4 separate regions of the Homo sapiens genome follow, and regions 1, 3 and 4 are each linked to region 2. Evidence: promoter capture Hi-C in 16 types of primary human blood cells and fetal thymus (Javierre and others, 2016). All regions are on one chromosome and are shown on one strand. Each heading gives the region's core, a stretch centred on a gene start or on the middle of the fragment in contact. The rest is flanking DNA. Distances are from core to core; before and after follow the strand shown.

What was found. Contacts are between HindIII fragments. The CHiCAGO score rates a contact against its expected background, and 5 or more counts as called.
Region 1: a contact is called between a fragment that was not itself captured here and the fragment with the promoter of CNPPD1 in region 2, in 1 of 17 cell types (M2 macrophages). The highest score is 5.5, in M2 macrophages.
Region 3: a contact is called between a fragment that was not itself captured here and the fragment with the promoter of CNPPD1 in region 2, in 17 of 17 cell types (fetal thymus, naive CD4 T cells, naive B cells and 14 more). The highest score is 16.4, in fetal thymus.
Region 4: a contact is called between a fragment that was not itself captured here and the fragment with the promoter of CNPPD1 in region 2, in 7 of 17 cell types (neutrophils, naive B cells, fetal thymus and 4 more). The highest score is 8.4, in neutrophils.

Annotation. Positions count from the first base shown.
Region 1 is chr2:219,072,090-219,075,209 of GRCh38, reverse strand. NHEJ1 (non-homologous end joining factor 1) reads left to right here. Exons shown (of 8, transcript NM_024782.3): 8 at 1-3,120. Among named protein-coding and RNA genes, the nearest start is that of IHH, 13 kb to the right of the region's middle. The HindIII fragment of the contact is 1,088 bases long and covers 839-1,926 here.
Region 2 is chr2:219,175,040-219,178,424 of GRCh38, reverse strand. CNPPD1 (cyclin Pas1/PHO80 domain containing 1) reads left to right here and starts at 1,500. Exons shown (of 8, transcript NM_015680.6): 1 at 1,500-1,665; 2 at 2,094-2,202; 3 at 2,753-2,834; 4 at 3,317-3,385. The coding sequence starts at 1,597. It overlaps RETREG2 (reticulophagy regulator family member 2), which reads right to left and starts at 150. Exons shown (of 9, transcript NM_024293.6): 1 at 1-150. The coding sequence starts at 72. RefSeq lists silencers at 1-115, 1,236-1,285, 1,356-1,565, 1,686-1,745, 1,584-1,878 and 1 more and an enhancer at 1-455. The HindIII fragment of the contact is 4,554 bases long and covers 1-2,550 here.
Region 3 is chr2:219,248,951-219,252,166 of GRCh38, reverse strand. It overlaps STK16 (serine/threonine kinase 16), which reads right to left. Exons shown (of 8, transcript NM_001330213.2): 8 at 1,830-3,216. It overlaps TUBA4A (tubulin alpha 4a), which reads left to right. Exons shown (of 4, transcript NM_006000.3): 2 at 1-159; 3 at 454-602; 4 at 844-2,457. The coding sequence ends at 1,815. Among named protein-coding and RNA genes, the nearest start is that of TUBA4B, 2.7 kb to the left of the region's middle. RefSeq lists enhancers at 1,935-2,054, 2,095-2,184. The HindIII fragment of the contact is 2,112 bases long and covers 211-2,322 here.
Region 4 is chr2:219,266,772-219,269,681 of GRCh38, reverse strand. The region is part of intron 2 of TUBA4B (tubulin alpha 4b); the gene reads right to left. Among named protein-coding and RNA genes, the nearest start is that of DNAJB2, 11 kb to the left of the region's middle. The HindIII fragment of the contact is 2,144 bases long and covers 542-2,685 here.

The DNA of each region.
Region 1 (3,120 bases), core at 133-2,632, 100 kb after region 2:
TTGGATCCTGAAGTGAGTAAGTGACTTATCAAAGGTCATACAGCTAATAAGTGACAGCCAGAATTTAAGCCCAGACAGCTGAGTTCTTAACAGCATTATTATATACACTAATGAAAACATTTATTTTCCAGAAAGGACATTAGGTTCTTCTTTCCAGTCTCCCACTGTAAACCTCCTTATCCCATGACCTTGCCTCTTTTCAATAGGATGTCTGCTCCCCAGGGGCTCTTCAAGGAAGGAGCTCTTGAGGACTCCAGGACTTACCCTCATGCTTTTTCCTGCTAGCAGAGTCTGAGATCTCCACCAAGGCTCATTCCCAGTCACTGCTGATAACTTTTCTTTACCCCCAGACCACAGGACCCTAGAGTGTGCTGTGTGGTAGTGACTGTCATCGAAGTGAATTGGGAACTATATAAAAACAGCCTATCAGCTGGCTTACTTTGCTCTTTTGTTACTTTTTTTTTTTTTTAATGGAGTCTTGCTCTTGTTGCCTAGGCTGGAGTACAATCGCACAATTTTGGCTCACTGCAAACTCCACCTCCTGTGTTCAAGTGATTCTCCTGCCTCAGCCTCCCGAGTAGCTGGGATTAGATGCCTGCCACCAAGCCCGGCTAATTTTTGTATTTTTTGTAGAGACAGGGTTTCACCATGTTGGCTAGGCTGGTCTCGAACTCCTGACCTCAGGTGATCTACCTGCCTCGGCCTCCCAAAGTGCTGGGATTACACGTTTGAGCCACTGTGCCTGGCCGATCTTTCGTTTCTTTTCAGCATAATTTAGATAGTCAGATTTCAGTATCTACAAGGCACATGGAAAATGGAAAGGCTTCCCCTGCAAGCTTGGAGAAAATACCGGTTCTTCACCCTGGGCATTCCCTGTACTGTAACAGCACAGACTCAAGACATTTTTCATCACAGCGGGGCCAGAGGCCTGTGAATCCCTCAAAATTGTAGGTAAAATCTTAAGAGCAAAATTTTGTTGATGTTCTCAAAAAGAATGTGTGACTTTCTAAAAAGGTTAAGTAAGAATATAGCTAGTAACCTTCCATCCACTGCCCCCATCATCCCCAAAGGTTGCTGTCTCCATTGGGGTATTGCTTAAATACGTTGTTAGAGAAACATTGCTACCAGAGGCCCTGCCACAGGCATTCTTGCCCCGAAGCCCTTACCCCGCAAAGCTAGGGGTAGTGGTTGAGAATCATTCATCCTAAGGCAACTCCAGGGAAATCCCTGCTTTGACAAATTGGCCTAGCCAGGCTGTATTCCAGCCCTGCCCCCTGGCTTGGGCCCCTCCCTGAGGCCCCCAGCCTGGCCCAACCCCCACTCTACATGCACATAAAAGGGTCGAATTCTCGTGGCTGCTCCATAAATTTTATTCCGTAAATATTAGTTTTCCCTGTGTTTAATAAAGCAGTGGCCCACCTCCCCGCCTACCCGCCCGCTCCCCGGGGCTGGGGCTGGGGCCAGGGCTGGCTGGTGGGAGAAGGGACTCTTTCAATTGCTTTGGAGTATTTTTAGAAAAAAAAATAATATAAGGTGGTTTACACGAGCAAGCCAGCAAACCAGGAGCAGGACTTGGGACCTCGAGGAAGTTCCTGCAGGAACTTGACCTAAAAAGTAGAGAAATAGCGCCACCTAGATTGCAAGGCCTACTTGGCCTTGCCGGCTGGTCCCCCATAGTTAGCTAGGACAGGCATGCTCCCTGCTTGGAGAGAAAGCCTCATCCCTTTCCACTCTAGCTGGGTAGCACCTCCTTTTCTCATGCCTCAGTGGGGGCTTCCCCAGCAACCCTTAAAAGCAGAGCTCAGGCTGGGTCCTAAAAGATATCACTAGGGTCATTCTCTTCTCTTGTCACCAGGCAGCCAGTCTCCCAGATCAAGGAGGATTTCCAAGGGATAGTAAAGTTATTGAGAAGGCAGGAAGAAAGCTTCTAGTCTCCATCTTTCCCTGATTCCTGAGAAGCGAATTCCTATGGTGTAAGGTGGCGAAGAGTGAGATCTGTGCTTCTATGCTCTGAACTGGAAAGAGTCTAGCCTGTTGAGACCAAAATCCTTCCACAGGCCTGGTGTAGCGCACCCACAGTGAGCACTGGGGGAAGGAGAGATGCTCACATCTCTTGATACTCAGCCCTACTGCTGCTCGTTTTTATCCAGCGGTACATTTGGACTCCCTTTTCTTTCCTTCCTTTTCACTTAGACCTCCCATTTTCCCAAGCCCTTACCTCCTCCTTAGCCCACGTTTGTTGGGAGATAAGCAGGGGCCCCTTGTGTACTCTGTACAAAGCTGGCGGGAGGAGTGGGGAATGGAAAAGGCTGTGCTGCTCCTCCTGGTTTCGTTCCTTACATTGTCACTAGGAGCATTTTCCTCTCTCTGTTTATTCTGTCTCTCATTTTCTCCTACTTACAAAACTACACAGATTCGCTCCAGAGAGTATAGAGTAAGCCTAAATTCTCTTAATAGCCCTTCCTCATGATATGGTAAGCTCACTTTGTCTGTTCTGCTTATGCTGTTAATGTAGACTGTGTTAATAGACACACTTCCTGTGCACTTTTCTGTTTTCATCCTTTCATTAGGTTATACTCTTTGAGAACAGGGTCAGTTTTAACCCTAACTCAGAAAATATCACTTCAGGGATATTATACCATTAACAAATATAATTTTATGTCAACTAGGTTTTGATACAATCAGGATATGTTTTTCTAAGCTCTACTGTGAAGTAGTTTCTGTCTTCTAATTTTTCTTGAAGAAAAAACTGTTAGAAAGGAATAAGTGACATACTGCAAGGAAGCCACCAAACTCAGAGCTCAAGAACCTTGGTTCCTCGTCTCTGTTACTAATATCCATAAATGTATGGGCTAGCAAAATTGTAATGGATTACACTAGGCCCTTAGATACAGAGGGGAATGCAGGAAGAGAAGGAAGCCCATACTTTATAGGAGGGGGGTTCCCAGCTGCATTGATGCCCTGGAAGCTGCTACAGGGTGCTCTTGTCCAGGGCAGCTCATTGCTCTATGTTTTTTCCTTGTGTTCTTGGCCAAGGCCTCAGAAGATCTCACCATGAGCGGAACATCCAGTGCATGGAGGGTATGAGGTAGCTTGTCTTATGTGAGGAAGAGGGACCAT
Region 2 (3,385 bases), core at 251-2,750:
CAGGCCCAGGCTCAGGCCCATCCCCGGCCCCCCACCCGCGCCAGTGTTACCCCCGCCACCGCCGCTCGCCATAGCCCCGCCGCAGCCGCCGCCCGAGCCCGCGAGGAGCCAGGGCTGCGCGGCCGCCGCCGGGGGCGCGTCAGGCGGAAGGGGGCGCCGCGGAGGACAGCAGAGGTTGCGGACGAGCGTCACGTGACTGCGGAGCGCTGAGCCCGTCACGTGACGCGGCCTAACCCCCCCCCCCCCGGATAGGGCGGGCCGCGCATGCGCCCCGGCGGCTGCCGCTGACACTGCGCCTACACAGGTTCGTTTTCTGGTTGACGAAGTACCCCGGGTTCCGAGTCCGGGTCTAGGTCCAGGCAGTCGAGCCCGTTTTCTTATCCCACAGTAGGCAGGGCGGCTAGGGAGTGTGGTGCTGCCCCGGTATCCCCGTGTGGGGCAGGAAGTGGGCTTCCAGATTCCCAGTATCCCCGGTAGGGTCTGCTTCTGCTCGCTCGGGAAGGGCGGTGGCCGTCCCATTACTCAACCAACCCTCAACGCACTGGTCCTCCCAGTTCCCTCCCCTCAGTGGGTAAACAAACACACACCAGCGCTTGACTCGACAGACTCGAAAACAACATCTACTCAGAAAAGTTGTTTCTTTCCTATCTCCTTAAACTTTCCCACTTCCACATATCGGAGCTTCTTCCCACCTCGGCCTACTCAAGCATGAGATCGGAGGCGGGAGGTGGGTTTCAACACAAAACCTTGGGTAGATGCAGTTTACTTTTGGGTGGACGTGTTGACACGTTTTGAGGCCTTACATTCGCTTAAGATCACAGAATTTCCTCAGTAGCCTTAGGTTTAAAAGTTCAAATTACAGTAAAAAAAAAAAACACCCTGAGTTTCTCTTCCTTTTCATAGTTCACCCACTGCTAAATTTCCTGTGTGTCCTTTCAGACGCTTTTCATATGCATTGCTGAGTATGTATAATATCTCTCCTAAAAAGCAACTGGGAACAACTTCCTGTTGTGCGTTTCGTCTTATTCACATTAACTTCTCCATTGCTACGCCTGGCTTGTTCATCCTCAGTGCGGCGTGGTCCCCCCTACGAATTGTCCCCATTTCTCAGAGGCGCCTGGGGCTTGGCCACGTTCCGTGAGACCAGGAGTTCGAGTCCGGTTCCTGCCCGCGGGTCGGGGCGGGAGGCTGGGCCAGATGGGCGGCAGGAAGTGCCAGGCGCTGACTTGCAGGCGGCACCCCCGCGGCTTGTAAACGCCGGGCGGACGCGGCACAGGCGGAGTACGCGCCTCGCAGCCGCATCTCCTTTCTGCTCCGCGAGGTGAGCGTCGCACGGACGCTTGACACCTCCCTTCCCGGGCCTAGGGCCCCCGCGCGCCGCGCCAAGCCCGGGGCGGAACAGGAAGAGGCGCCCAGTTCAGCCCGGGCCCCGCCTTCCGCCGCCGGGGGGAGGGAGCTGCGAGGGCGAGGGCGAGGACGGCGGCCCGCCCCGGGGAGGCAGGCTGGCAGGTGGACAGGCGGGCAAGGACAGCTCCGCGAGCCCCCTACAACTCGTTTCCTTCCGTTCACCTTCGCAGGGCGGCGACTGGCGGCGCGATGGACCTGACCGGGCTCCTGCTGGACGAAGAAGGCACCTTCTCCCTCGCCGGCTTCCAGGACTTCACGGTGAGTGGGGGTCCCGCCCCCTCCCCGGCCTCCCGGCGCGCCCCTCCCGGCCTGAGCGGCGCTGCGAGCTCGCCTGACTGCTGTGCCGGGACTGGGCGGCAGCTGCTCGAGCAGTGCTTCCTTGAGGCCGCGGCTGCTTGGGCCGGGAGGGAGAGCCGCGGAGTATAGGAATGGGCGTAGGGGTGGCCACACGAGGGCCCTTCTCGGAGAACTTCTCCCGGGGAACCCTCGATGGGGGTGGGGGCATTCCTCCCTCTATGGACCAGGCTGCCATTGGCAAGCGATTTACAGAACGCGGGTCTGGGTAAGGCACGGGCCCCCTAGCAGCGAGGCCGGCCTGTCCCCTGCCCCGCCTTCCAGCCCAGAGCCAGGATCTGCATCATACCTTTCCGTGCCCTTCACCCTCCGCTGCCCCTGCCCTGTTTCAGTTCCTCCCAGGACACCAGAAGCTGAGTGCCCGGATCCGAAGGAGGCTCTACTATGGCTGGGACTGGGAAGCCGACTGTAGCCTGGAGGAGCTCTCCAGCCCGGTGGCAGGTTAGGCAGTGTTGTGTGACTGGACAAGTGAGAAGCATGAAAATGGGATTGTCATCAGGCAGAAAATGGCTCGAGGTTTGCCCCGTGGCTACACTGTCTCTTCATTGCTAGCTCGTTGGTACTTGGTTCAAGAGGGCAGTTTGCATTTCCCATTCTTTTAGCCCAAATGAATAAAAAACATTGCTGCCACATATATCTATACAAATCACTCTTGATTTATATATTGAAAAGCTAATTTTCGAAGGATATCCATCATATGTTCCCCAAGTAAACAAGGCATGTTTATGCCACAGATGAACAGCAGTGACAGATAAATCTGGATAGTTTGATGTGACAGGGCAATAAGCTTTCCTGTTAGAATGAGCTGAAATTCGAACTTGGAATGGGCTTTTTGTCTCAGTGTGTGAGAATTTGATCTCTATTTTGTTACTATGGTCCTGTCCCCAAGGCCTCAGAAAATACAGATCTGGGTCTTCTGCTAGCAGTGGGGACTGGTGTGTTGGGTGTGGGTGCTTGTTTGCTCACTCGGCCTTCCTTCTGTCCCTTGCAGACATTGCTGTCGAACTGCTCCAGAAGGCAGCCCCCAGCCCTATTCGCCGACTCCAGAAGAAATATGTAGCTCATGTGTCCCGGTGAGCCTGGAAATGAGGATAGGATGAGAGTGTTTGGGCCCTAGAGAAAGGGGAATCGTCTTTTCTTTCTTTTCTTTCTTTCTTTTTTTTTTTTTTGAGACAGTCTCACTTTGTCACCCAGGCTGGAGTGCAGTGGCACAATCTCGGCTCACCGCAACCTCCGCCTCCTGGGTTCCAGTGATTCTTGTGCCTCAGCCTCCCCAGTAGCTGGGACTACAGGCACACACCACCGCCCCTGGCTAATTTTTGTATTTTTAGTAAAGACGGGGTTTCACCATGTTGGCCAGGCTGGTGTCAAACTCCTGGTGTCAGTCCACCCACCTTGGTCTTCCAAAGTGCTGGGATTACAGACATGAGCCACCGTGCCCAGCCAGGAATAGTTTTTTTCCAAAGATAAGAGGTAAAGACAGGAACGAGCATCATAAGACTTGCAAGAGCTGAAGGACCCTTGGGTTTAATTAGTGATCCTTTCTACCACCCAGGGAGGCATGCATCTCCCCATGTGCTATGATGCTGGCTCTGGTGTACATTGAACGGCTCCGGCACCGAAA
Region 3 (3,216 bases), core at 17-2,516, 74 kb before region 2:
TCTATTGCTTGGAACATGGGATTCAGCCTGATGGGCAGATGCCCAGTGACAAGACCATTGGTGGAGGGGACGACTCCTTCACCACCTTCTTCTGTGAAACTGGTGCTGGAAAACACGTACCCCGGGCAGTTTTTGTGGATCTGGAGCCTACGGTCATTGGTGAGAGGAAGTGGGGACAAAATTGAAGGGGGTGGAGCATGACTCAAAGCTTCTCCCTGGAGAGAGAGGGTATTTAGACCAGGCATTCCTAGCCCTGAAAATTCCTAGCCGTACTTGAAGCTGCAGAAGGCAAGCTGATCTGAGACTGGCCTGGGCAGCTGGTCTGGGTTTCTCTCACACTCTGGTATCTCAGGCTGGCAGGAGGATGAGTCCTTCCATGCATCTGGCCACAGCTACCACCCTGGGGGAGGAAGGTCCCTGCTGAGCATAGCTTTGTGGTTTTTGCCCTTCCAGATGAGATCCGAAATGGCCCATACCGACAGCTCTTCCACCCAGAGCAGCTCATCACTGGGAAAGAGGATGCTGCCAACAACTATGCCCGTGGTCACTATACCATTGGCAAGGAGATCATTGACCCAGTGCTGGATCGGATCCGCAAGCTGGTGAGAGTGTGTCTTGGGAGGGAGGGAACTTTTGAGACTGTGCTAATGGTCAGGAATATTTTTTTTCAGATCCTTTCAGGAGGTCATCTCTAACTATACATGGTCTCGAGTGTGGTGCTGCTATGGCATCCTCAGTATTTGCCCTGACTGCTGATGTATCTTACGCTTTATGGAGCCAGGTGATAGAGTCCCTCAGGCCCCTCCCCTACCTAAACTGTTCTTTCTCGTTCTTGCCTTTCAGTCTGACCAGTGCACAGGACTTCAGGGCTTCCTGGTGTTCCACAGCTTTGGTGGGGGCACTGGCTCTGGCTTCACCTCACTCCTGATGGAGCGGCTCTCTGTTGACTATGGCAAGAAATCCAAGCTGGAATTCTCCATCTACCCAGCCCCCCAGGTGTCTACAGCCGTGGTCGAGCCCTACAACTCTATCCTGACCACCCACACCACCCTGGAGCACTCAGACTGTGCCTTCATGGTGGACAACGAAGCAATCTATGACATCTGCCGCCGCAACCTAGACATCGAGCGCCCAACCTACACCAACCTCAATCGCCTCATTAGCCAAATTGTCTCCTCCATCACAGCTTCTCTGCGCTTTGACGGGGCCCTCAATGTGGACCTGACAGAGTTCCAGACCAACCTGGTGCCCTACCCTCGCATCCACTTCCCCCTGGCCACCTATGCACCAGTCATCTCTGCAGAAAAGGCATACCACGAGCAGCTGTCGGTGGCAGAGATCACCAATGCCTGCTTTGAGCCTGCCAACCAGATGGTAAAGTGTGATCCCCGGCACGGCAAGTACATGGCCTGCTGCCTGCTGTACCGTGGAGATGTGGTGCCCAAGGATGTCAACGCTGCCATTGCCGCCATCAAGACCAAGCGCAGCATTCAGTTTGTGGACTGGTGCCCCACAGGCTTCAAGGTTGGTATCAACTACCAGCCTCCCACTGTGGTGCCTGGGGGTGACCTGGCCAAGGTGCAGCGTGCCGTGTGCATGCTGAGCAACACGACCGCCATCGCCGAGGCCTGGGCCCGCCTGGACCACAAGTTCGACCTGATGTATGCCAAGAGGGCGTTTGTGCACTGGTATGTGGGTGAGGGCATGGAGGAGGGTGAGTTCTCCGAGGCCCGTGAGGATATGGCTGCCCTGGAGAAGGATTATGAGGAGGTGGGCATCGACTCCTATGAGGACGAGGATGAGGGAGAAGAATAAAGCAGCTGCCTGGAGCCTATTCACTATGTTTATTGCAAAATCCTTTCGAAATAAACAGTTTCCTTGCACGGTTTCTTGTTCCCTCTGAGTGCTTGAGCTTCTGCTGCCTTCCCCTTCATGCTGCTGCTGCTCTGTTTGCTGTTCATGACCCTTATCCCTTCCATCGCTGAAGGTGAGACCTGCAAAGGGGTTCTTGCCAGGCCCAGGAAGCATAACCCCAGGGACTTTAAATTGAAGTCCTAGGGTTACTCAGTATAGGGAGGAAATGAGGACCAAAATCCAGGCACAAACTGTTGAAGGATGAGTCTTCAGCTCCTTTCCAAGTAGGAGTATAATCCAGTGGTTTCTGTCTTTGAAAGTTAGACTGCTACCCTGTTCTTCCTGCTGCCTCTACATTTACCAACTCTGGAAGCAAGGCTTGGCCCAGGCTCCTCTGTGCATTATGAGGGTTTGGGAGTGGGGCTGGGCTGGCCCAGAGTTCCTGGGCATGGAGCCACGTCATAAGCTTGGGGGATGGGAGGGAACACAGGCGATCTCCTAGAGTTGTTTGTGCCACTGCACCTCTGAGCAGCTTTGCATAGCTTCCTGTCTTGCTGCTTTGCTGGAGCTGGGGCTGTGCCATTAAAAGTCAGGTCATCTCCCCTCTGTTTGTGATTTCTTTCTGGCCTCAGCCTCTGTGCTAGCTAGTGGGAGACTCCTGCTAGGGCCCTGGGGAAAGCTTCAACTTTGCTAACAGGAGCCCCAGGCCCCATGCTGATGTCATACTGTGGGGTAGACATGGTTCGGGGGAGGAGGCTTGGATCACAAAAGAGCAGGAGATGCCAACCCTGCCCTTGCCTTTCCTCCCTGGTGATTCAGGGAACAGAGCCCTTCCCTAGGGAACAGGTTTGAAGCCCAGCTAAGACAGGGCCCCTGTTTACTCAGCAGAGTAGGCAGGAAGTGGCAGCTGGATACTGCCACACCACACTGCCTCATTAATCATTAACCATGTATGAGCTTGAACGATCAGGGAGACACAGGCCAAAACAGCTGCCGCTGCCACCTCCACTCCCCTCGCCCCTAGGCTGAGGATGGGAGACCTGTAATCTACCTGTCTCAAAGCTTCCTCAGGTGTCTCCACCCAGAGGCCCTTGCCTAGCAAACCGGCTAGGCAGCTTTGACTAAGCTACTCACCCCAGGAGTGAAGGAAGGAAAGAACTAGTTGAGTGTTTTTAGGGGGCCCTAGTTCTTGACACAGGCAGATGCCAGCTTGAGCCCAAGCAGCTTTAAGTTTTGATCTAAGACAAGCTAGAACTGTCCACTGCTAACCAACCTCCTGTAGAATGAAGTCACACCATTGCCGACTCTGCACCATTCCTCCTTCCCAGGCAGTTCGCCTGAAATGGCAACCTGACTTTGGGC
Region 4 (2,910 bases), core at 364-2,863, 91 kb before region 2:
CAGGCATTGCCAACTGCACACCGGCCTGCCCCACGTGGACTGAGATGCACTCACACTGAGTGGGCAAAGGGCAGAGAACGGCCTTCACAGAGGGAAACATATCATGCCTGGACATGGTTCCTGCCTGCCTTCCTTGAGTGGCTCTTTGGCTGAGGGCCAAGGTTCCTGGACTCTACTCTGCTTGCCTCGCCTCCTGCATCTAAGCATTTACTGGTGGCACTGAGGAGCAACAGGCATCGGCTGTAGGGGCTGGGCCAAAATCATTGGGGGAAGCAGAAGATGCGGGCAGTCCTGAGATTATAGACTCTTGCTCAGTGCCTGTCTCAATGAGCAACATTGAAGGAATCGAATGAATCTAGAAGTGCAAGATAATCTACCCACCAGTGTCCAGAAAGAAATTAGGAGCCATTGGTGAGGGAAGCAAGGGAAAATAGTACAAAGATAAAGCACAGGAGACATTAACTCCAAATTTGGAATAATGGTGCTCTCTGGCAGGGGAAGCAGATAGATGCAATTGGAGACAGATTCTATTTCTCAAGCTTGATAGCTGCTGTTCATCACATTATTCTTTTCTTTTTTTCTTGAGACAGAATCTCACTTTGTCACCCAGGCTAGAGTACAGTGATGTGATCATAGTTAACTACAGCAGTCTTGGACTCCTGGGCTCAAGGGATCCTCCTGTCTCAGCCTCCCGAGTAGCTGGGACTACAGGCATGCACCACCATGCCTGGCTAAGTTTTAAATTTTTTTGTAGAGACAGGTCTCGCCATCTTTCCCAAGTGGGTCTTAAACTCCTGGGGTCAAGCAGTCTACCTGCCTTGGCTTCCCAAAGTACTGGGATTACAGGCATGAGCCACCGCCGCCCAGCCTATCATGTTATTATTTATACCTTTTTGCATTCCTGAAATATTTCTTAATTGTTTAATGAGGATGACTTCTCCAAAAATGTAACACTTCATTGACTATTTTTATATAACACAAAGGCCTGACTTTTCATGATTTTTAGATGACTGAGATTAATCCATAAATAATCTGTATTCCAGCCCAATTACTTCTCTACTTGTCTTGAGCAAAAATCTTAACCTCTTTGTCAATGTTCTCCTTTTGAAATGTAGACAATAATAAGAGCCCCTCCTAGAAAAACTATGAGAATTAAATGAAAGAATGCATGCAAAGTGCCTGGCCCACTGCCTAACACACACTAGGGTGTGCCATGCATGTTGGGTTCCCCTTCCAATTTCCCACCCTCAATCCCTGATGTCATAGTAAGAGAAGGTAATGAATTGAGGCTGGGCGCAGTGGCTCAAGCCTGTAATCCCAGCACTTTGGGAGGCCAAGGCAGGTGGATCACTTGAGGTCAGGAGCTCGAGACCATCCTGACCAACATGGTGAAACCCCCTCTCCACTAAAAATACAAAAATGGTGTATGCTTATAATCCCAGCTACTCGGGAGGCTGAGGCAGGAGAATTGCTTGAACCCAGAAGGTGGAGGTTGCAGTGAGCCGAGATTGCATCACTGCACTCCAGCCAGGGCAACAGAGTGAGACTCCATCTCAAAAAAAAAAAAAAAAAAAAAGATAATGAGTTGAGCTGAGACCTCAAGGACAGGAGAAATCCCAGGTCCAATCCTGGGGCTGCCTTGGCTCACCAATCACCTGCCTGGTGCTGCACCTCTGAGCCTGACCAGCCAGTTCTGTCCACAGACCCAGACATCGTCCTGGCCCCCAGAACTACTAGCCCATGCAAGGTGTCTCTGGCCCCTCTGGGAATGATGTCTCACACTGGAGGCAGCAGTTTTGGGGCAAAGAACTCAGCCCCTGGCCGGGTGCAGTGGCTCACGCCTGTAATCCCAACACTTTAGGAGGCCGAGGTGGGCAGATCACAAGGTCAGGCGATTGAGACCATCCTGGCCAACATAGTGAAACCTTGTCTCTACTCAAAATACAAAAATTAGCCAGATGTGGTGGCAAGCGCCTGTAGTCCCAGCTACTTGGGTGGCTGAGGCAGGAGAATCGCTTGAACCCGGGAGGCAGAGGTTGCAGTGAGCCGAGATTGCGCCACTGCACTCCAGAATGAGACTCCGTCTCAAAAAAAAAAAAACAAAAAAAAGAACTCAGCCTCTGGAGTCACACAGACCTGGCCTCAAACCCCCATCTCTCTGTGATCCAATACAAGTCATTTCACCTCAGCTTCCCTAGCACCTTTTTCATGACTGTAGAAAGAGAAGAATCTCATAGCCGGCGGCCTGTGTTGTTACATTGCTTAGTTCTGCTTATTAAGCACTAATAAGGTGCCAGGTGAAGGTGGCACTTTATACACATTATCTCATTTAATCTTTACCACATTCACCTTAGGTAGGTAGTTTTATTACCCCCAATTTATAGATGAGGAAACCGACCCTCAGAGAAGTCAAGTAGCTTGCTCAAGGCCATGAGCAAAACCAAGAATATTTAGAGCAGGGATGGCCTGGCACCAACCATGCTCTTAACTGTTCTTCTATCCTGCCTGGTAGGGAGGTGGGTAAAAGATATCAAATAAGCCCCAGGCACAGCCAGCTCTTGACAGATGGGAGCACCCCCTTTTCCCTCCTCCTTCTTCTCCCCACTGATCTGTAACTGACATGAGAGGTCAGACAAAGGCACAGCAGATGGGCAGGGTGGAGGGAGGAACCAGAGGGGAGAAGCTTCCATGGAGGATGTGTCCCCATGGTGGGAAGGTGGGATCAGAGCCCAACAGTGAACCTGTGGCAAGGCCCAGGGTCTGGAGATCCTCAGCCAGCAGAGGAAATCGCCTACACTTTCTGCTCAAGTCCTGCTTCCCCCACACTCCCCACACCTAAATTCAGACCCCCTCAGCAGCCCTGCTTCTCAGCCTAGGCTCAGCCCCACAACCTGGTTACCATTAAACTTT